Regions from separate parts of the Homo sapiens genome. Here regions 1 and 2 are each linked to region 3. The links are contacts of gene promoters, found by promoter capture Hi-C in blood cells and fetal thymus (Javierre and others, 2016). All regions are on one chromosome and are shown on one strand. The core of a region is centred on a gene start or on the middle of the fragment in contact, and the rest is flanking DNA. Distances in the headings are between cores, read along the strand shown. Region 1 overlaps CDH3 (cadherin 3). Region 2 overlaps CDH1 (cadherin 1). Region 3 holds the start of HAS3 (hyaluronan synthase 3).

Evidence for each region. Contacts are between HindIII fragments. The CHiCAGO score rates a contact against its expected background, and 5 or more counts as called.
Region 1: a fragment that was not itself captured here is called in contact with the fragment with the promoter of HAS3 in region 3 in 2 of 17 cell types (erythroblasts and M2 macrophages); the score reaches 6.1 in erythroblasts.
Region 2: a contact is called between a fragment that was not itself captured here and the fragment with the promoter of HAS3 in region 3, in 1 of 17 cell types (megakaryocytes). The highest score is 6.1, in megakaryocytes.

What each region holds. Positions count from the first base shown.
Region 1 is chr16:68,665,967-68,670,892 of GRCh38, forward strand. The region is part of intron 2 of CDH3 (cadherin 3); the gene reads left to right. Among named protein-coding and RNA genes, the nearest start is that of CDH3-AS1, 22 kb to the left of the region's middle. The HindIII fragment of the contact is 1,588 bases long and covers 1,719-3,306 here.
Region 2 is chr16:68,820,234-68,823,644 of GRCh38, forward strand. CDH1 (cadherin 1) reads left to right here. Exons shown (of 16, transcript NM_004360.5): 12 at 1,768-1,992; 13 at 3,166-3,393. It also overlaps the pseudogene FTLP14. Among named protein-coding and RNA genes, the nearest start is that of TANGO6, 22 kb to the right of the region's middle. The HindIII fragment of the contact is 1,659 bases long and covers 1,333-2,991 here.
Region 3 is chr16:69,103,053-69,107,449 of GRCh38, forward strand. It overlaps HAS3 (hyaluronan synthase 3), which reads left to right and starts at 2,601. Exons shown (of 4, transcript NM_001199280.2): 1 at 2,601-2,735. RefSeq lists an enhancer at 2,266-2,814 and a silencer at 2,948-3,227. The HindIII fragment of the contact is 7,234 bases long and covers 1-4,397 here.

The sequences.
Region 1 (4,926 bases), core at 1,263-3,762, 440 kb before region 3:
CTGGAAGGCAAAATGGGGGCCTACCACCCATACGGGACCTTTGTCTTTTCAAAGGAATATTTGAAATCAATCATCCATTTCCCAATCTTTCCACCTGAGTCTTTGTTGAGGGTATCTGATCTGAGGCAGAGGGCCCGAGTCTGAATGATTTCACCACTCACTCTCCAGGCTTGCCTCCCCAGTATCCCAGCTTCCTCTTCTGCTTGGCTGGGTCAGAGAAGGGCTGCAAGCTGAGGCCCTCACACACCCCGTCAGCCCTATCTGTGAGAAGATCCAGGTCCAGGGGGCCTGTGTATAGATGGGTGCCATCCGCCAGGTGTAACTGCACTCCACCTGGGTTCTGTTGCCCTCCAAGAGCTGCTCTGCTTACAGCTCTGGGGAAAAAGGCCTGGACACCCAATAGGTGCACCCAGGGCTCTGGCAGGCCCTTGCAGAGCTGCCCCAAGCTTGCTAGGCAAGGGCAATGGGCCTCCCAGCATGCCCAGGGGTGGGTCCCAAGTGAATCCAGGAGCCCCAAGGCCTCTTGGGATCCCAGCATGTGCAGCCTCTTCCCCCCACCCCACTTTGCTGCCCTATGACCTCTCCCGTGGGTCTCCTCAAAACGGGTCTGGCTCACTGGCCACCATCTTGGTTTTCTTGTGCGTGGAAAATACTTGGTGACGGAGAGAGGCAGACCACAGCCTTGGCACCAGGGCTCAGCCCCTCTCTCTCTCTTCTTTTTGGTACAAGAATAAAACTATAAATATTTTATATAATAATTGTCAGCCTTATGCTATAAATGGCTTTATGACCTGCTTTTTTCCCCCCTCTGCAAAATACTTTTTCCTGGGTAGGTTTTCTTTTATAGTATTTAAGGCTGTAGATTAGGCATTTGGGTGACTGTGGCACAGCATAATTAACTGTTCTGTTGAGAGTTAGGTTGTTGAGACCTTTTTTTGCTTTTTTTCCCTATTAAGCAAGTCACGAACATCCTGGCAGGTATGGTTTTGTCACATCTGGGATGGTATCTTGGCACAATTCCTGGGTCAATGGGCTTGTTTAAGGCATTTTAATTTGCCAGAAAGGTTGTGCCAGTTAATATTCCCCCACCCCTAGCAATATATAGCAGCACCCGGTTCCCAACTGTGACACAGCACTTGCCCTTTTAATTTGTATTTCTTAGTTGGTGAACTTTTTTCTATATGTAGTTTTACTTAGGAAAAATGCCAGAATCTTTCTTCAAGTCACTTCCACCTACTTTTCCCCGGTGCCCTCTTATCCCAATCCCTTAACAGAAGGTAGTGATAGCTATAAGGACAAATTTGTTTGTTTTGTGAGCTAGGTATGTCCCTAAAGCAAGCTAGAATAGAAATTTCCTAGGCAATCTCTTCCCCCAACTCCCCAGGCTGCCTTTTGGCCACAATATGTTTAAGATGATGTTTTCCTTTTCCTCTAGTCAAAATACCCAGAGATCAGTAGGGAAATTGGTGGAGAGTGATCACTTGATGGACATTTTGTCTACGGAAAGATGGGTGGTTTTATTTTGCCAGAACATCCAGTAATGTTGGACATCAGGACCAGATAGCACCTCCAGGAAGAGACAAGCTCCTGACCTTCAAGGGTATTCCCTTGGGAGTATGGAGGTGTCTAGGCAAATTCCAACCTAAAAGCAGGCCTGGAACATAAGAGGAATGAGTTCTTAGCCCAGCATCCATCAATTCTTATAAGTCTATTTAAAAAGCTTTCTTTTCCCAATAGCTCTAGTACCCCAGGGACCAAACTCTTCTTGCCCAAGTTTTATTAGTGGCGCCAGTTCAGGACCCGAGGCCAGGCTTGGCAGGATGATCTTTAGAGAGGAGCTTTGAACATAGGCCAGAGACTCCTGGTTTCCATTGGATGTCTTCTATCGAGTGCAGATACATAGAGCTCTGGCTTTTTTGTTGTTAATTTCTCTTTTTATTTATTTTTACCTATAATGTGTCCTATGATATTAATTGTTAATTTCTCTAGAAGCAGCCTCAGGTTACTGATTCCCTTTTTCCCTTCCCCGACAGTATTTTAGGGAATGTACATTTAGGCTCAGTGCTAAAAGCTGTCCATTTATATTGGTAGAGCAGGCACCTCTTCATCAGGTTCATTGACCTTGTAATTCAGAATCCTTGTGGGAGAAACTGAGGCTAATGCGGTCAAATGACTGTCTGAAGCCCTGGATGGGTGTGGAAGAAAGAGCTATGTTTAGGCTTTCATTTTCCAGCCTTAAATTCTGAACTATTGCCCCATGTGCTCATCATCAAGTTGCCCCAGAAAGAGTTTGATGCAAGCCCATTCATGCCCCCGTGATTTGGCCAAGATGTGTGGCCTTGTGGAACCATGCTGCAGTTAGGAACAGGAGTCAGTTTACTTCGCTGACTATTAAAAGATGGGGTAAAGGAGGGATGAGTGATGATGAGACCTGGTTTCGTATCAGTTTCATTATGAAACTAGTGATACAAGCCAGTGGTGCCAGGAAGCATCTGGGAGGAAATTGTAATGATCTGCCCCAGGGCTTACCATTTACTATGTCTTGACTCATAGCTTGCAGAGAAGACTACTCATGTTCCTACATGTGCCTAGCAAGTTTCCCTAGAAAGGCCAGCTTTTTCATGAAATCTCCGTCTTCTGCTTCCTCTGGTAAACCACAGAGGACCCCTACAAAACAGCCCTCTCCAAATGCAGACTGAGCCAGTTCCCTATTGTGCCCTCTGGTCCCATGTGTCACCATCTTTGATCAGCTTCATCCGTTGAGTAAAGCATACAGCTGTAGCTAACTTCTTCCCACTTTGAGAGAGAATTTTTCGATGGTATACATAGAAAGAGGCCAGGATGTGGATGTCAGAAGCCTAGGTTAATTGTAAGTAGTCTAAGGTACCTTTTTATTGAGAGCTTACCTTACTTACTCTGGGCCAGGCACAGTATTCAGTGCTGTTTGAACACTATCCCATTTAATCTTCCTAATAACCTGATGAGGTAGGTATTGTTTCATTTTCCAGATGAGGAAACTGAGCTTCTATATAATCATACAATTTGCCCAATCATGTGATAGATAAGTGACATTATAGGGATTGGAATCCAAGTCTTCTGGACTCCAAATTTCGTATTCTTCATTATTTCCCTGCCTTCAGGATTTGAAACCTGATCTTGCTGCTTCCTGGGGCAGTTCAACCCCTGGCAGCCTCTTGTTTCCTGAGTTGTCAGATTGGGAGAAGTAATACCACATTGCAGGTTATTTTGTGAGGATTTGGGTAGGAAAACACTTAGCTGGGTATCCTGAGCAGAGTGGGTGTTTGAAGCTTATTCCTATCAGTCTGGACCATTGCCCCTTGGTTGTGCTCTGTACCCAACTCAAAGCAGTTTAGAGCTGATGGGGCCAGCTCCTCAGATGTATCTGGAATATGCACCCTGAGTGGGAGGCACATACACCTATAATACATGACCGTTGGCTTCCCCTTGATTATTGACACTGTCCCTTCTACAAATAGATGCACAGCCCAGATACTGTGCTACAAATATGTGGAACCATGTAACAGTGGAAATATGCCAGAAGACAGGGTAGTAGAGTGAGTTGTACACTCTAGTGGGAAGCAGATTTTGTAGACAGCGGGAAGAGGATTTCTAGCTCCTGGTGGGGTGGCGGGGGGGGTGGGCGGTAGCAGCTCTCAGAGTTTTGGGGATTAAGTCTTCTGAGTAGTAGGGGAGTCAATCCATTAGCCTCCTTCTGGGTTACCTGGTGGGAGAGGATTGGAGTCATTGAGTCTCTCCTTAAAGGAAATAATTGACAGAATTGTCTGGTTAGCCCTTTACTGGCTAAAGATCTTCCCTTAGGAAGAGGGCTGTTTTAGGATTGAGAAAAGTGGCCAGGCACAGTGGCTCATGCCTGTAATCCCAGCACCCTGGGAGGCCAAGGTGGGAGGGTCACTTGTGCCCAGGAGTTCTAGACCAGCCTGGGAAACAGCAAGACCCTGTATCTACCAAAAAAATAAAAGTGACCTTTAGTCACTCACTTTGGGAGGCCAAGGTGGGTGGATCACTTGAGTTTGAGACCAGCCTGACCAACATAGTGAAACCCTGTCTCTACTAAAAATACAAAAAATTAGCCGGGCCTGGTGGCGGGCGCCTGTAGTCCCAGCTACTCGGGAGGCTGAGGCAGGAGAATGACGTGAACCTAGAAGGCGGAGCTTGCAGTGAGCCGAGATTGCGCCACTGCACTCCAGCCTGGGCAACAGAGCAAGACTCTGTCTCAAAAAAAAAAAAAAAAAAAAAGAACATCATTAGTACTTAAGTAGTTCTTGAATGAATGCTGCATTGACGAACCTGGCTTTAGAACCTGACCACCCTGGGTTCTCATTCTAATTCCAAGCTGTTCGACCTTTGGCTAGTCATCTCACCGCCACCACCCCTCACCCCCAGCCCTAGTTTCCTCATGTGGTAAATGGTGGGTAATGGTCTGTAAGGTTCTGGGGGTCTACACATTCCCGGTTGGGGTTTATTTTTCTTGAAATGGTTTTGCTCTGTCTCCAGCTGGGGTGCAGTGGCAAGAGCATGGATCCCTGTAACCTCGACCTCCTGGGCTCAAGGTATCTTCCCACCTCAGTTACCTAAGCAGCTGGGACTACATCATGGTTTGGAGTTTCAACTTGTACGTTACTCATGATGGTTCTGTGAAGTGTAATATCCATCTTCCAAATGAGAAAGCATAAATACCTAATAAGTTAATTCAAGTTCTACATCAGCAGTGATATTTCCAATTAATGGATTCTTGAGGGACTTTCACAGGGTCTTCAGCCCAGCTTTAAATAATACTGAATCAGCCTGGCACAGTGGCTCATGCCTGTAATCCCAGCACTTTGGGAGGCCAAAGCGGGTGGATCGCTTGAGGCCAGGAGTTCGAGACCACCCTGGCCAACATGG
Region 2 (3,411 bases), core at 912-3,411, 280 kb before region 3:
AAACAGAACTTACTTTTCACTACTCACTCTTTATTCCTTCCCTAAGGGAACCAGGTAATGATGGTTTACAATCCATTTCCAAAGCTTAATACTTGTGTGACCTTGGATTTGCTGTTTAATTTTTTTTTTTTTTTTGAGACAGAGTCTTGCTCTGTCACCCAGGCTGGAGTGCAGTGGTGCAATCTTGGCTCACTGCAGCTTCCGCCTCCCAGGTTCAAGCAATTGTCCTACCTCAGCCTCCCAAGTAGCTGGGATTACAGGTGTGCACCACCACGCCCAGCTAATTTTTTGTATTTTTAGTAGAAACGGGGTTTCACCATATTGGCCAAGCTGGTCTTGAACTCCTGACCTTGTGATCTGCCCACCTTGGCCTCCCAGAGTGCTGGGATTACAGGTGTGAGCCACCGTGCCTGGCCTGCTGTTTAATTTTTATGTCCCTCAATTCCTTTACCTGAAAAATGTTAATACCCATGTGGGTGAAATTAGTTAGGTGTTAAATCAGTTAGGTGTGGGTCCTTCCAGACTGCTTCTGTGTATTTAAATACATTTATAGGCTGGGTGCTAGGGTCACACCTGTAATCCCAACACTTTGGGGGTCTGAGGTGGGAGATGGCTTGAGGCCAGGAGTTCAAGACTAGCCTGGGCAACATACTGCCCATAATCTCAAAATGCTGGGATTACAGGCATGAGTTATCATGCTTGGCCTCCTTGAGTTAATTTTAAATGACGTGTGCTCATTGTTAAAAAATAAAATTTACATGAGAAAAAAGTTTTAAAAATTTACAGTCATGCCATCTAGACATATCTATTTATAGGTTTGAGATGGATTCTTCTGTTGTTTTGTATCCGTATCGTATACTAATATTGATGATAGTTCCCTGGGTACCAATTTTTCCTACTACCATATGCTCCGTGTTGTGTCAAGATATAAAAGAAATGCAAACAGAAGTGTGGATGGGCTGGGCGCAGTGGCTCACGCCTATAATCCCAACACTTTCAGAGGCTAAGATGCGAGGATCACTTGAGCTCAAGAGTTCAAGACCAGCCTGAGCAACATGATAAGACCCCCTCTCTACAAAAAAAATTTAAAAACTAGCCAAGCATGGTGGCATGCGCCTGTAGTCTCAGCTACTAGGGAGGCAGAGGTGGGAGATTAAGCCCAGGAGGTAGAGGCTGCAGTGAACTGTGTTCATGCCACTGCATTCCCGCCTGGGTGACAGAGTGAGACTCTGCCTCAAAAAAAAAAAAAAAAGCGTATGTGAACTCCCCAATCTATTTTGAAAACCAATTTGCAGAGACTTCAAAAGACCCAACTCATCCCCTTTGATTTTAAGCTTCTAGTCAGGCTTAAAATTAAAATAAATAAAAAGACTCAATGCTTTGTTAATGACCTCAAATGGCAGGAAAGTGCAGAAAAAGGAGAACTAGGGAAACAACAGGCAGGCAATAGGACTTCTTGGAGTAGTTAAAATTCAGTGAATGAATAACGATATGTGAAGAAGGAGGAGTGTGTTCTTGGTGTGAGGAATAACTTGAATAATTGTTATCAAGGTGGGAATAAGTTGTCTGTGTAAAACGGCCAGAGACCTGCCCACCTGGGAGTGGAGGTCCTTTGGGATTGGTGGGACAGGAGGTTCTGCGGGTGGAGTGGGGCCTGGTGAGGGACCACTGAAGAGCCAGGACAAGATCTAGACTTGGTCTGGTGGAAGGCAATGGGGATTCATTACTGTTGCCAAGCTGCCACATTTTCTGTGTATTTTCTCTTAGGTTCTCCAGTTGCTACTGGAACAGGGACACTTCTGCTGATCCTGTCTGATGTGAATGACAACGCCCCCATACCAGAACCTCGAACTATATTCTTCTGTGAGAGGAATCCAAAGCCTCAGGTCATAAACATCATTGATGCAGACCTTCCTCCCAATACATCTCCCTTCACAGCAGAACTAACACACGGGGCGAGTGCCAACTGGACCATTCAGTACAACGACCCAAGTGGGTACCTGAGTTTTATTTTGGCAACTTTGCTCCAACTGCCATGCTTCCCTTCCCCCAGATCCCCACCTTTCAATTTCCCTTCTCAACTTCTAGATGTCACCCCTTCCATTGATACTTGCTTCCTTGTCCCTTCTGTCTTTGAGGCCTTGCTCCAAAGGTCTTTTTCCTTTCCTGGTATCTAACTTTGTAGCATGCTACCCAGTAATCTAAAACCCAAGCAGGGCTCCCTCTCCCAGCCTCTAGCCACCCTCCACTCCCCTCTCCACTTGCAACCAGGACCATCTTCTCTGCTACCTCCTGCTCCTGGGACCAAACAACACCATTTTTGTGGTTAGCTCCTTCTTGCCAACCAATCGTGAGCTCCCAGATTCATCAGAACTATTCTACCGAGGTGGAGGCAGCTGTCAACTGCCTGGTCAATTTGCATATATGGGCTTCCTACACCTACTTCTCTCTGGGCTTCTATTTCCACCATGACGATGTGGATCTGGAAGGTGTGCACCACTTCTTCCACAAATTGGCCAAGGAGAAGCACAAGGGCGCTGAGTGTCCCTTGAAAATGCAAAACCAGTGTGGCGGCCGCACTGTCTTCCCGGACATCCAGAAGCCATGTAAAGATGAATGGGGTAAAACCCTGGGTGCGATGGAAGTCACTCTGGCCCTGGAGAAGAACCTGAACTGGACCCTTTTGGATCTTCATGCCTTGGGTTCCACCTGCACAGACCCCCATATCTGTGACTTCCTGGAGAGCCACTTCCTAGATGAAAAAGTAAAACTCATCAAGAAGATAGGTGACCACCTGACCAACCTTCACAGGCCAGCCGGCCTCCAGGCCGGGCTGGGCAAAAAGGTTCACCCTCAGGCACACGGGAGCCTACCGAACCCAGCGACATCTGAAGAGCCCCGCTCTGCCTAAGCCTCTCCCTCCAGCCACTAGGCAGCTTTTTTAAACCAACTCTAGAGCCCTCTCCCAAGCCTTAGACCAAATGGAAATAAAGCTTTTTACAGCAAAAAAAAAAAAAAAAAAGTACATACCTAAATAAAACCCAAGCAGCTCTGCTCTCTTCACTCGGCTTGCGGGTGTCTTTAGTTCACTAGCAATTTTATTCTGGAATGAGCTTTTTATTTTCCTCCCCTGGTCTCATCATTTCTTTTTATTGCTTTCTCCAGCCCAAGAATCTATCATTTTGAAGCCAAAGATGGCCTTAGAGGTGGGTGACTACAAAATCAATCTCAAGCTCATGGATAACCAGAATAAAGACCAAGTGACCACCTTAGAGGTCAGCGTGTGTGACTGTGAAGGGGCCGCTGGCGTCTGTAGGAAGGCACAGCCTGTCGAAGCAGGATTGCAAATTCCTGCCATTCTGGGGATTCTTGGAGGAATTCTTGCTTTGCTAAGTAAGTCCAGCTGGCAAG
Region 3 (4,397 bases), core at 1,351-3,850:
ATTTGAATTACCAATGCTTAAAAAAATTAGGAGATTTCACATACAAAATCTGGATTTCTGGCTTCTCTTGACAACAGAGCACCTGGCCACATGAGGCCCTCCCTCCACAGGGAGATGAGCCTCTAAACGGAGCGTTTGCTCTCCACCAGGCTGATGCACTCATTTTTGCCCTTGCCAAGCCCCTGCTTATTTTCTCTGATGTTGCAGATTGCAAATCTGGGAAGGAGGAAGGATCAGAGATATCCTCATCTGCAGCAACTCCAGGGGTCTGTGATGCCTCTGGGTGTGCAGGAGGTAGCCCAGGGCTCCAGGGTTCATAATGCAAGAGAGACAAGACATTTTTCTTTCTTTCTTTCTTTTGAGATGGAGTTGCCCTCTTGTTGCCTAGGCTGGAATGCAGTGGCACGATCTCGGCTCACTGCAACCTCTGCTTCCTGGGTTCAAGTGATTCTCCTGCCTCAGCCTCCTGGGTAGCTGGGATTACAGGCGCCTGCCACCACACCTGGATAATTTTTTGTATTTTTAGTAGAGACAGGGTTTCACCATGTTGGCCAGGCTGGTCTCAAACTCCCGACCTCAGGTGATCCACCCGCCTCAGCCTCCCAAAGTGCTGGGATTACAGGTGTGAGCCACCACACCCGGCCAGGCAGTTTTCTTTTATTCAAACACTGATCCTTGAACTTGCTGTCACTGAGTGCTCTAGAGGGATGGCCATGTAGAACCCGTGGCATGGGCAAAGGATGCTGCTGTCTGGTTTACTAACACTTGCTGAGCGCTTACCCTCAGCCAATCTCTTCAAACTTCCTATCAGTCCGCCTAGCAATCCCATCTGTGGGATGAAGACACTGGGGCTTACTGGCAGACTCTAGAGCCCTCCCCTCCACCAACCTAAGGCTTCTTCTCCATCTTTGTGTAAGTAGGAATGGCTCTGGTAGGGCCCCTCAGGCCATCTGAAGTTCAAAACACATTGGCAGCTGGGCTGGATAGCATGCCTATAGGACTAGCTCCTAGGGAGGCTGAGGCGGAAGGGCTGCTGGAGTCCAGGAATTTGTTTTTGAGACAGCGTCTTGTTCTGTTACCCAGGCTGGAGTGTAGTGGTTCGATCATAGCTCACTGTTGCCTTGACCTCCTGGGCTCAAGCAATTCTCCTGCCTCAGCCTCCCTAGTAGCTGGGACTACAGGCACACTCCACCATGCCTGGCTAATGTTTTTTTTTTTTTTCTTTTCTTTTCTTTTTCTTTTTTTTTTTATTTTTATTTTTTGAGATGGAGTCTCACTCTGTCGCCCAGGCTGGAGTACAGTGGCATAATCTTGGCCCACTGCAACCTCTGTCTCCTGGGTTTAAGCGATTCTTCTGCCTCAACCTTCCCAGTGGCTGGGACTACAGGCACGTGCCACCATGCCTGGCTAATTTTTGTATTTTTTAGTAGAGATAGGGTTTCACCATATTAGCCAGGCTGGTCTCTAACTTCTGACCTCGTGATCCGCCCACCTCGGCCTCCCAGAGTGTTGGGATTACAGGCGTGAGCCTGCACCCGGCCCTGGCTAATTTTTTAATTTTAATTTTTGTAGAGACGGGGGAAGTCTCGCTTTGTTGCCCAGGCTGGTCTTGAACTCCTGGCCTCAAGCGATCCTCCATCTTCAGCCTCCCAAAGTGCTGGGACTACAGGTGTGAGCCACTGTGCCTGGCCAATAATGTAAGATGGGATTGTGTGGAGTAGGTGTGCCTGGGGTCTTTGCTTGCCTGCGGGGACTGAGGTGTGAGGTCTGTGGCCCAGACTGAGCAATGGTGGGCAGGCAAGTCCCTGAGCCCCTAAAACTTGCGAGAGGAGAAGTTTATAGACTGCAGCTCAGGTGCCTATAAATTTGTTGCAGCTTGGGAAGAAGTGATAGAAATTATATCAGGTGTATTTGGAAAACAGGTAAACTCTGTTTTTTGGTTTTTTTTTTTTTTTTTTTTTTTTTTTTTTTTGGAGACGGAGTCTCGCTCTGCTGCCCAAGCTGGAGTGCAGTGGTGCGATTTCAGCTCACTGCAACCTCCACCTGCGGGGTTCAAGCGATTCTCCTGCCTCAGCCTCCCGAGTAGCTGGGATTACGGGCATGGTGCCCGTAACGCCGAAAGTGCTGAGATTACAGGCTTGAGCCACGGCGCCCGGCCACTCATTTTTTAAAAACTAGTTATTAATTATAATTTCTCTTCAAGTTTTCCTGAGATGTAAAAACTCATCGCCTTCAGCTGGTTCTAAACTTCTTGTCTCTGCTAACAACTCTCCCCCCTCCTCGATCTCACCCCACCCCAGTGCACCCCAACTCACTTCATCTCACTTTACTCGAGTCTAGCACTATCTTTTAGGGACCTGAAAACTACTGTCGATAAGGTCAGTTGGGAATTTAGGAGGTCATGGATGTCGGAAATAAAGGTGTGAAAAAGAAGAGGAGGAATTGTTTTGGCTTTAAGACACCGGAACCTCCAAGGTTCCTACAAAACCGTTTGCAGCTTTTGCAAACCGCCTTAAAGTCATCAGCGCCCCACTGCGGAATTCAAAGCTAAGCTGTCACAATTGTTAACACCTTCTTTGACCAGCCTTTTTACATTTGACAATTCTCTTCAGCGCCTCTTTCCTGCCAGCAGGAAGGTTTTGCTGCCTTGGCTTTCGGGAGCCCCCTAGACAGCGAACTGCCCCTTCGCGTGCAGAAGTCGGGGAAGAGTGCTCTCAGCTCGCCTTCCTTGCAGGGTGAGTAGGTTTTGCGGGTTAGAGAGCGGGGCGTGGGGGCGGGGAGGGAGAGTAACAATTTTGGAAGTCCCTGCGTGGTATCTGGAAAGTTAACGACGCTTCAGGTTCTAGGTTGAGCCCAATGACCGTCTTGCCTTGGCAGCTGGTCCCAGGGCGATTGCAGAGCCGCGTGGCCTTCGGCCCCACTCGGGGGACCCAGCTTCGGAGAGGGCGCAGGGGCTGCGAGTCTTGCGAGCCGGAGCCGCGTCCACCCGGGACTAGGCGTCCCCGCCGAGCGCTGGCTTGTGGCGCTCCCTGGGACCGCGCGGGGTCGGGGGTGCGCCCGCGGGGGCCCTCCCACTCTGGTCAACTTTCCCGGCCCCAGGGCCGGGGGAGGCGCCTCTCCTGGCGGGCACGCGCCGGGTACTTAAGGGCGGCTCGGCTGGGCAGGCGGCAGTCGGAGCGCGCGGCGGCGCGGAGCGGAGCGGGAGGAGGGGCATGGAGCCGCCGCGGGCCTGCTGAGCTCCGGAGCGCGGCAGCCGGCGGCACGGTGAGCGCGGGCCGGCCGGCACCCAGGAGGGGAGGGCCGCGCGGGGCTGCGCCGAGGCCGGGGCGCGCCGGGTGGCAGGGGTGCCTCTCGCCGAGCCCCCCGCACCCGGCCAGCTCCCAGCCCTGCGGGCGCCGCGTCCGGCGCGGGGAGGCGGGTTGGGGGCGGCGGCAGCCCCGGGCTTCCCGGCGGCCGTTCCTGCAGCCCCCTCCCCACTGACCCCTCCTCCCTTTCTTCCTGCATCCTCTCCTCTTCCAGCCTCGCCTCCCTCCTCCCCGGCGGCTCCTGTTTTGTGAATGAATTAGGAGGCGGACGCCGGTGCGGGGCTCCAGGCTGGCTGGGGTACCCCTCCCCCGCACCTTCTACGACCTCCCGGGGGTTTGCACCTGTCCGGGCACCAAGGTACCAGGCGCCCACGTTCCTGCGGGTTAGCCGGGCCGCGGCAGCACGTGTCCGGGGGAGTGGGCTCCCCTCCCCTGGCCGGCCTGGAGGGGCCCGGAGGGCGGCCGGGCACAAGAGGAGGAGCCCCGTTGGGCGCACAAGTTTCCATGCCGCTGCGTGTGGCCCTGCCGCGGGGCGCACCTGTCAGCGGGAGAGACGCTGCACACCAGCAGCCCCTCAAAGTTTCGGAGGCTTGATGGAGAAGCGTGCGTCCTTGACTGGGGGTTCTCCTTCCGTAGTCCTGGGAGCCGGACTTGAGAGCGCCCCCAACCTTGTGCCCTTGAAAGCCGAGTGCGCGTTAGTTTGCCTGGGCTGGGCTCCCGTGGATGAGCGAAGGGCATGAGGAGGCGGCGGTCCAGGCTGTAGGATCACCCCACAGCCTCTGCCGGCTTGGGGTGACACAGCCCCCCGCCCCAGGTCTGGGCAGGAGAACCTCGACCACAGCCTGCACCAGCGCCTGATTGCACGTGGGGTATCTGGCTGAGGGACATTTTGGGGGCCTCTATTTGGGGGTGGGGGTAGTAACCTGGGTAATGCCTCTAATTCCTGCGGGGGAGGGGTCCCGCCCAGGGAAGGAGAGGGCCGGCTACACCGGGGATGCGCCTTTGTCTACAGGCACACTTTGCCAAGGTAGCTGGGGTACCAGGAAGAGCAGGGCCTGGTCCGACTGGGATCCCTTGGGTTTTCCGTTCCTT